Linked DNA regions of Homo sapiens: regions 2 and 3 are each linked to region 1. The links are contacts of gene promoters, found by promoter capture Hi-C in human tissues and cell types (Jung and others, 2019). All regions are on one chromosome and are shown on one strand. Each heading gives the region's core, a stretch centred on a gene start or on the middle of the fragment in contact. The rest is flanking DNA. Distances are from core to core; before and after follow the strand shown. Region 1 holds the start of ZNF878 (zinc finger protein 878). Region 2 has its middle 53 kb from the start of ZNF44. Region 3 has its middle 17 kb from the start of ZNF700.

The links. The method cuts DNA at HindIII sites, captures the fragments that hold promoters and counts their contacts. A contact is called where the count stands out against the background at its distance.
Region 2: a contact is called between a fragment that was not itself captured here and the fragment with the promoter of ZNF878 in region 1, in 1 of the 25 tissues and cell types used here (lymphoblastoid cells).
Region 3: a fragment that was not itself captured here is called in contact with the fragment with the promoter of ZNF878 in region 1 in 1 of the 25 tissues and cell types used here (mesenchymal stem cells).

What each region holds. Positions count from the first base shown.
Region 1 is chr19:12,051,578-12,054,365 of GRCh38, reverse strand. It overlaps ZNF878 (zinc finger protein 878), which reads left to right and starts at 1,405. Exons shown (of 4, transcript NM_001080404.3): 1 at 1,405-1,567. The coding sequence starts at 1,565. RefSeq lists an enhancer at 1,066-1,571 and a silencer at 1,760-1,809. The HindIII fragment of the contact is 7,236 bases long and covers 1-2,788 here.
Region 2 is chr19:12,240,927-12,243,714 of GRCh38, reverse strand. It overlaps a transcript of ZNF44 not described here. Among named protein-coding and RNA genes, the nearest start is that of ZNF44, 53 kb to the left of the region's middle. The HindIII fragment of the contact is 7,661 bases long and covers 1-2,788 here.
Region 3 is chr19:11,906,936-11,909,723 of GRCh38, reverse strand. It overlaps a transcript of ZNF69 not described here. Among named protein-coding and RNA genes, the nearest start is that of ZNF700, 17 kb to the left of the region's middle. The HindIII fragment of the contact is 5,350 bases long and covers 1-2,788 here.

The DNA.
Region 1 (2,788 bases), core at 156-2,655:
AGAGACCTGGTCTCACTGCGCCCGGCCACTGGTTTTTTGTTTTGTTTTGTTTTGTTTTTTTGAGACACAGTCTTGCTCTGTGGCCCAGGCTGGAGTACAGTGGTGCGATCTCTGCTCACTACAAGCTCCACCTCCCGTGTTCTCGCCATTCTCCTGCCTCAGCCTCCCGAGTAGCTGGGACTACAGGCGCCCACCACCACGCCCGGCTAATTTTTTTTTTGTATTTTTAGTAGAGACGGGGTTTCACCGTATTAGCCAGGATGGTCTCGATCTCCTGACCTCGTGATCCGCCCACCTCGGTCTCCCAAAGTGCTGGGATTACAGGCGTGAGCCACTGCGCCCGGCCAGCGCCCGGCCATTTAAAAAAATTTTAAATAATAAAGACAGGGATCGGCGGGCGAGGTGGCTCACGCCTGTAATCCCAGCACTTTAGGAGGCCGAGGCGGGCGGATCACCTGAGGTCGTGAGTTCGAGACCAGCCTGACCAACATGGAGAAACCCCGTCTCTACTAAAAATACAAAATTAGCGGGGCGTGGTGGCGCATGTCTGTAATCCCAGCTATTTGGGAGGCTGGGGCAGGAGAATCGCTTGAACCTGGGAGGCGGAGGTTGCAGTGAGCCAAGATCTCGTGCCACTGTGCTCCAGCCTGGGCGACAGATCGAGACTGTCTAAAAAAAAAAAAAAAAAAGAAAGAAAGACAGGGATCTCGCTGTGTTGATGATGTTGGCCTCAAACTCCTTGCTTCAAGGGATCCTTCCGCCTCAGTTTGCCAATGTGGTGGGATTATAGACATGAGTCACCATGTGCTACCTCTCTTCAGATTTTAAAGGTGTCAAACTCTCAATAGCTTTTAGATCAGGGAAAGGAAAAGAACGGGGGAGCTGGCAGTGCTTCATTAACGGAGATTCTCTACAAATGTAAATTTCCCCCTCAAAAGACAGTTTTGCAAGGCCACCTTTTGTTTGCTGGCCAAGCAGCAGCCATTTCAAAACTGTCAAAGAAATATATTTTGGCAGGGCAATATCTTGGGGCAAAATATTTTAATGTCTTTCACATTTTGTGGACACTGAATCTGGAATTCCCTGCACACTTGTGTCCCGTGTAGGATGAAGGGGCAGGGACGGCCCACGGAGTGAGGAAGACAACAGTGTCCCTTCTAGCAGTTCGGAGCAAGTTTGGCCGAAGGCAAATATTCGAAGTAAAGGTGGGAGGGAGGGAGGGAGCTGACCTTGGAAAGTGTGGCCAGAACCAGTCGCTTCGGCTCTGCAGCGCCCAGTTACCCGGGGCTTCTGCTGTCACTCAGGGAAGGGGGCGGAGTCTAGACCCCTATCCAATCAGGGGCGCTAGGGCGGGGCCCTGCCACTGTCCTCCAGGGAAGGGGAGGTTGCATTCCCGCTCTCTTCACTCCTAGGGCTGCTCGCGCTAGTTAAGGTCTGGGGCTTTCTTGCTCCGAGAGGGACCAGTTACTTCCGCCGTAGCTGCTGTTGCTCTGTCGACTGCGCTGTGACCTGCACTGTTCACGGGACCTTTAGAGAGGACGCCAGAATACCTGGAAGCCAGGAAATGGTGAGCATGCGGTGCTGGGGAGTCCCAAGGCGAAAGGAGGGACTGGGTGGAACCGAGAGGAACCCGCTGTGGCGGGGCCCGGGCCCCCCTGCAGCGACTCTGGGCTCCAGACACAGTCCCCCTAGCGCAGCTCGGCCCTCGGTCCCCTCGGCCGCTGGGTGGAGCTGGGCCGGCAGCCGGGACCCCGGGCGTCCTGTCCGGTCCCTGCGCGGCGACTGCGGCCCCGGCCCCGGCTCCCTCTCTGAGCAGCTCCGCGCCCGCAGCCCCGCGTCTCCCCAGATTGTGCGGTGACCATGGAAGGGTCATGGGGGATCCTGCCTCGGGTGTGGGGTTCGTGTGGGAGGAGCTGTGGGCTGTGGGGTCCCCAGTTCCTTTTTTTTTCCAGTTAAAAATTAAACTGAGGCACTGTTAAAAAATGAGAGTTTATTTTAGCAAACAGCGATTAATGAATGAGAAACTCCCAGTCCTGGCTTGTGGTTTGGTAACGGAAAAACCCAAATCGTGTAGAATAAGTTTATTCTGAGCCGAATAGGAGAGACCTCGGCTGAGGGAAACACAACCCCGCGAAGTCTGGAGTAAGCAATCCCGAGGCAGCTCCTGACAGTTTGGTTTTATTCATTTCAGGGAGACAGGAATTGCAGGAAAATGATGAATCAGTGCCGGGAAGGTGTAAGTTCCTTTGGCCGAAAGGCGGGACACATGGAAGCGGGGTTAGAAGGCACAGGTGGTGGAGGGATTCTGTAGGTGGCAGTTGGTTGAGAGTGTGTAAAGCTTTGTCTAAAATTTGGAGGCTGTAGGAAGGAGGGCTGTTATCTGCCACGTTATTCCATCCCAGTCCCCGCCCCCTTCCCCAAAAGACCTGTTTTTATTTTACCAGATTTTTATATTTTTGAGACGGAGTCTCGCTCCGTCGCCCCAGGCTGAAGTGCTGTGGCGCCATCTCGGCTCACTGCAACCTCCGCCTCCCGGGTTCAAGCGATTCTCTTGCCTCAGCCTCCCGAGTAGCTGGGACTACAGGCGCCAGCCACCACGCCCGGCTAATTTTTGTATTTTTAGTAGAAACGGGTTTCACCATATTGGCCAGGCTGGTCTTGAACTCCTCCTGACTTTGTGATCCGCCCACTTCGGCCTCCCAAGGTACTGGGATTACAGGCGTGAGCCACTGCGCCCGGCCAATTTTTGTATTTTTAGTAGAGACGGGGTTTCATGATATTGGCCAGG
Region 2 (2,788 bases), core at 114-2,613, 190 kb before region 1:
ACCATGTGATCCAACAGTCTCACTCCTGGGTATATGCATATATGACCAAAGGCAGTGATCAGTATTTCAAAGAGATATCTGCCACTCGCATATGTTCATTACAGCATTATTCACAATAGTCAACATATGGAAACAAACTTAGCATCCATTAATGGATGAATAAAGAAAGTGTGATGTATATTTAAACAGAATATTACTCAGCCGTAAAAAGGAAATCCTGACATTTGTCACATGAATAAACCTGGTGGACACTATAAAATAAGGCAGACATAGGCAAATACTTCATGATCCCACTTAATTGTGGAATATTAAAAACTTAAACTCCGAGGCAGAGGGAGGAACGGTGGTTACTAGAGTCCAGAAGGTAGGGAAAATGGAGAAATGTTGGTCAAAGGTTAAAAACCAAGTTGTAAGGTGAACACGTTCTGGAGATTTAATGTACAGCATGGGTGGTCATCAATGTGTTAATTTGACTGTGGTAACCATTACAGAATGTATATATATACATCAAAACATAACTGTACATCATGAACATATACAATCTTTGTGAAGTATTTTAAAATAAAAAAGGAATGTTTACTGAATCTACGCCTGTTGGATCTTTGTATTACTGAGAAGTGTTGAAGTCTTCAGTTAACTGTGAATTTTTCTGTGTCACCTTGCAGTTCTGTGTGTTCTTGCATGACGTATTTTGGCAATTTGTTAAGTGCATGTATTTAAAATTATGTCATTTCTATTGCTGGGTCTTAATTTCTTCCTGAAATATCTGATCTGGTTATTCAATCCAGTGCATATTTTATACCAGGCATTGTTGTTTTCCTTTCTAGTAGCTCAAATTGTGTCTTTAGTTTTTAATTTTTTTTCTTTCAGACAGGGTCTCCCTGTCACCCAGGCTGGAGTTCAGTAGTGTTCTCTTGGCTCACTGAAACTGCTGCCTCCCAAGCAAATGATCCTCCCACCTCAGCCTCCTGAATAGCTGGGACTACAGGTGCACACTACCATGCCCAGGTAATTTTTTAAATCATATTTTTTTTTTTTTTTTTTTTTGGAGAGACAAGGTCTTACTATATAGGTCTTACTATATTGCCCAGACAGGTTTCCTGGGCTCAAGGGATCTTCCTGCCTTGGCCTCTCGAAGTGCTGGGATTACAGGTGTGAGCCGTGTGCCAATGTGCCTGGCCAGTTTTTAATTTTTTTTTTTTTTTGAGCCGGAGTCTCGCTCTGTCACCCAGGCTGGAGTGCAGTAGTGCAATCTCGGCTCACTGCAAGCTCCGCCTCCCAGGTTCACGCTATTCTCCTGCCTCAGCCTCCCGAGTAGCTAGGACTACAGGTGCCCACCACCACGCCCGGCTAATTTTTTGTATTTTTAGTAGAGACAGGGTTTCACTGTGTTAGCCAGGATGGTCCTTGAACTCCTGACCTCATGTGATCTGCCCACCTCGGCCTCCCAAAGTGCTGGGATTACAGGCGTGAGCCACCGCACCCGGCCTTTAATTTTTTTTAAGGTCAAATATAGTAACATAGAATTTACCATTGTAAGTATGCCATTCAGTAGCATTAAATACATTAACAGTGCTTTAGAACCATCACAGCTAGCTAGCTAGTTCCAGAATTTTTTCATTAGTCCAAAAAAAAATTGGTACCCATTAAACAACCATTCCCTATTCCTCCCATCCCCATCCCTTGGTAATCTCTATTTTCCTTTCTTGCTCTATGAATTTGCTGATTCTAGGTGCGTCATGTAAGTAGAAGCATGCAGTATTTGTCCTTATGTGTCTGGCTTATTTCACTTAGCATAATGTTTTCAAGGTTCATCCACATGTTAGCATGTACCAGTAATTCAGTTTTTGTGCCTGAATAATATTCCCAAGTGTGGTATATTGGATACACCACACTTTGTTTATCCATCCATATGTTGAGCACTTGGGTTGTTTCCACAAAACTCTTTTGACTACTCTGAATACTGCTCTAAAATCAGTGCGTATGTGTCTGAGTCCCTGCTTTCCATGGTTGATTGATTGCAACGGAGTCTCGCTCTGTTGCCCAGGCTGGAGTGCAGTGGTGCGATCTTGGCTCACTGAAACCTCCACCTCCCAGGTTCAAGTGTTTCTCCTGTCTCAGCCTCCTGAGTGGCTGTGATTACAGGTGTCTGCCACTATGCCCAGCTAACTTTTTGTATTTTTAGTAGAGACAGGGTTTCACCATGTTGGCCAGGAAGGCTGGTCTTGGACTCCTGACCTCTGGTGATCCACCCACTTTGGCCTCCCAGAGTACTGGGATTACAAGTGTGAGCCACCGTGCCTGGCCTCTATTCTTTTAGATACATACCTAGGAGTGGAATTGCTGGGTCACAGGGTTTTCTATGTTCATGTATAGCCATACTGTTTTTCACAGTGGCTGTGTGTAAAATTCTCCCCAGCAATACACAAGGACTGCAGTTTCTATGCATGCTCACCAACCCTGGTTATATTCTACTTTTTGTTTTAAATGGCAGCCATTCCAACAGTTGTGAACTGTCACTGGTGTTTTGATTTACATTTCCCTAATCACCAGTGGTAATGAGCATTATTCCATGTGGTTGTTGGCCATTTATATATCTTTGTACAAATGTTTTCAAGTCCCTCACTCATTTTTGAATGGGCTCATTGGTTTGTTTTGTTGAGTTGTAGGAGTTCCTATGTATTTTGGGTATTAATCTCTTCCAAGATACGTGATTTGCAAATATGTTCTCATTCTGTATGTTGTCTTTTGGTGCACAAAAGTTTTAAATTTTCATGTAGTTCAGTTT
Region 3 (2,788 bases), core at 186-2,685, 140 kb after region 1:
CATTCAGTATATGATATTGACTGTAGGTTTGTCATAAATAGCTCTTATTATTTTGAGATACATCCCATCAATACCCAGTTTATTGAGAGTTTTTAGCATAAAGGGCTGTGGAATTTTGTCGAAGGCCTTTTCTGCATCTATTCAGATAATCTTGTGGTTTTTGTCTTTGGTTCTGTTTATATGATGGATTACGTTTATTGCTTTGCATATGTTGAATCAGCCTTGCATCCCAGGGATGAAGCCAACTTGATCGTGGTGGATAAGCTTTTTGATGTGCTGCTGGATTTGGTTTGCCAGTATTTTATTGAGGATTTTTGCATCGATGTTCATCAGGTATATTGGTCTAAAATTCTTTTTGTTGTGTCTCTGCCAGGCTTTGGTATCAGGATGTTGCTGGCCTCATAAAATGAGTTAGGGAGGATTCCCTCTTTTTCTATTGATTGGAATAGTTTAAGAAGGAATGGTACTAGCTCCTCTTTGTACCTCTGGTAGAATTCAGCTGTGAATCCATCTGGTCCTTGACTTTTTTTGGTTGGTAGTCTATTAATTATTGCCTCAATTTCAGAGCCTGTTATTGGTCTATTCAGGGATTCGACTTCTTCCTGGTTTAGTCTTGGGAGGGTGTATGTGTCCAGGAATTTATCCATTTCTTCTAGATTTTCTAGTTTATTTCCATAGAGGTATTTATAGTACTCTCTGATGGTAGTTTGTATTTCTGTGGGATCGGTGGTGATATCCCCTTTATCATTTTTTATTGCATCTATTTGATTCTTCTCTCTTTTCTTCTTTATTAGTCTTGCTGGCGGTCTATCAATTTTGTTGATCTTTTCAAAAAAACAGCTCCTGGATTCACTGATTTTTTGAAGGGTTTTTTCTGTCTCTGTCTCCTTCAGTTCTGCTCTGATCTTAGTTATTTCTTGCCTTCTGCTAGCTTTTGAATGTGTTTGCTCTTGCCTCTCTAGTTCTTTTAATTGTGATGTTAGGGTGTCAATTTTACATCTTTCCTGCTTTCTCCTGTGGGCATTTAGTGCTATAAATTTCCCTCTACAAACTGCTTTAAATGTGTCCCAGAGATTCTGGTATGTTGTGTCTTTGTTCTCATTGGTTTCAAAGAACATCTTTATTTCTGCCTTCATTTGTTATGTACCCAGTAGTCATTCAGGAGCAGGTTGTTCAGTTTCCATGTATTTGAGTGGTTTAGAGTGAGTTTCTTAATCCTGAGTTCTAGTTTGATTGCTCTGTGGTCCGAGAGACAGTTTGTTATAATTTCTATTCTTCTACATTTGCTGAGGAGTGCTTTACTTCCAACTATGTGGTCAATTTTGGAATAAGTGTGATGTGGTGCTGAGAAGAATGTATATTCTGTTGATTTGGGGTGGAGAGTTCTGTAGATGTCTATTAGGTCCTCTTGGTGCAGAGCTGAGTTCAATTCCTGTATATCCTTGTTAACTTTCTGTCTCATTGATCTGTCTAATGTTGACAGTGGGATGTTAAAGTCTCCCATTATTATTGTGTGGGAGTCTAAGTCTCTTTGTAGGTCTCTAAGGACTTGCTTTATGCATCTCAGTGCTCCTGTATTGGGTGCATAAATATTTAGGATAGTTAGCTCTTCTTGTTGAATTGATCCCTTTACCTTTATGTAATGGCCTTGTCTCTTTTGATCTTTGTTGGTTTAAAGTCTGTTTTATCAGAGACTAGGATTGCAACCCCTGCTTTTTTTGTTTGTTTTCCATTTGCTTGGTAGATCTTCCTCCATCCCTTTATTTTGAGCCTATGTATGTCTCTGCACGTGAGATGGGTCTCCTGAATACAGCACACTGATGGGTCTTGATTCTTTATCCAATTTGCCAGTCTGTGTCTTTTAATTGGAGCATTTAGCCCATTTACATTGAAGGTTAATATTGTTATGTGTGAATTTGATCCAGTCATTATGATGTTAACTGGTTATTTTGCTCGTTAGTTGATACAGTTTCTTCCTAGCCTCAATGGTCTTTACAATTTGGCATGTTTTTGCAGTGGCTGGTACCGGTTGTTCCTTTCCATGTTTAGTGCTTCCTTCAGGAGATCTTTTACAGCAGGCCTGGTGGTGACAAAATCTCTCAGCATTTGAATCTGTAAAGGATTTTATTTCTCCTTCACTTATGAAGCTTAGTATGGCTGGATATGAAATTCTGGGTTGAAAATTCTTTCCTTTAAGAATGTTGAATATTGGCCCCCACTCTTTTCTGGCTTGTAGAGTTTCTGCCAAGAGATCCGCTGTTAGTCTGACGGGCTTCCCTTTGTGGGTAACCCGACCTTTCTCTCTGGCTGCCCTTAACATTTTTTCCTTCATTTCAACTTTGGTGAATCTGACAATTATGTGTCTTGGAGTTGCTCCTCTCGAGGAGTATCTTTGTGGCGTTCTCTGTATTTCCTGAATTTGAATGTTGGTCTGCCTTGCTAGGTTGGGGAAGTTCTCCTGAATAATATCCTGAAGAGTGTTTCCCAACTTGGTTCCATCCCTGTCACTTTCAGGTACACCAATCAGACATAGATTTGGTCTTTTCACATAGTCCCATATTTCTTGGAGGCTTTTTCATTTCTTTTTACTCTTTTTTCTCTAAACTTCTCTTCTCACTTCATTTCATCCATTTGATCTTCAATTACTGATACCTTTTCTTCCACTTGATTGAATCAGCTACTGAAGCTTGTGCATGCATCACATAGTTCTCGTGCCATGGTTTTCAGCTCCATCGGGTCATTTAAGGTCTTCTCTACACTGTTTATTCTAGTTAGCCATTTTGTCTAA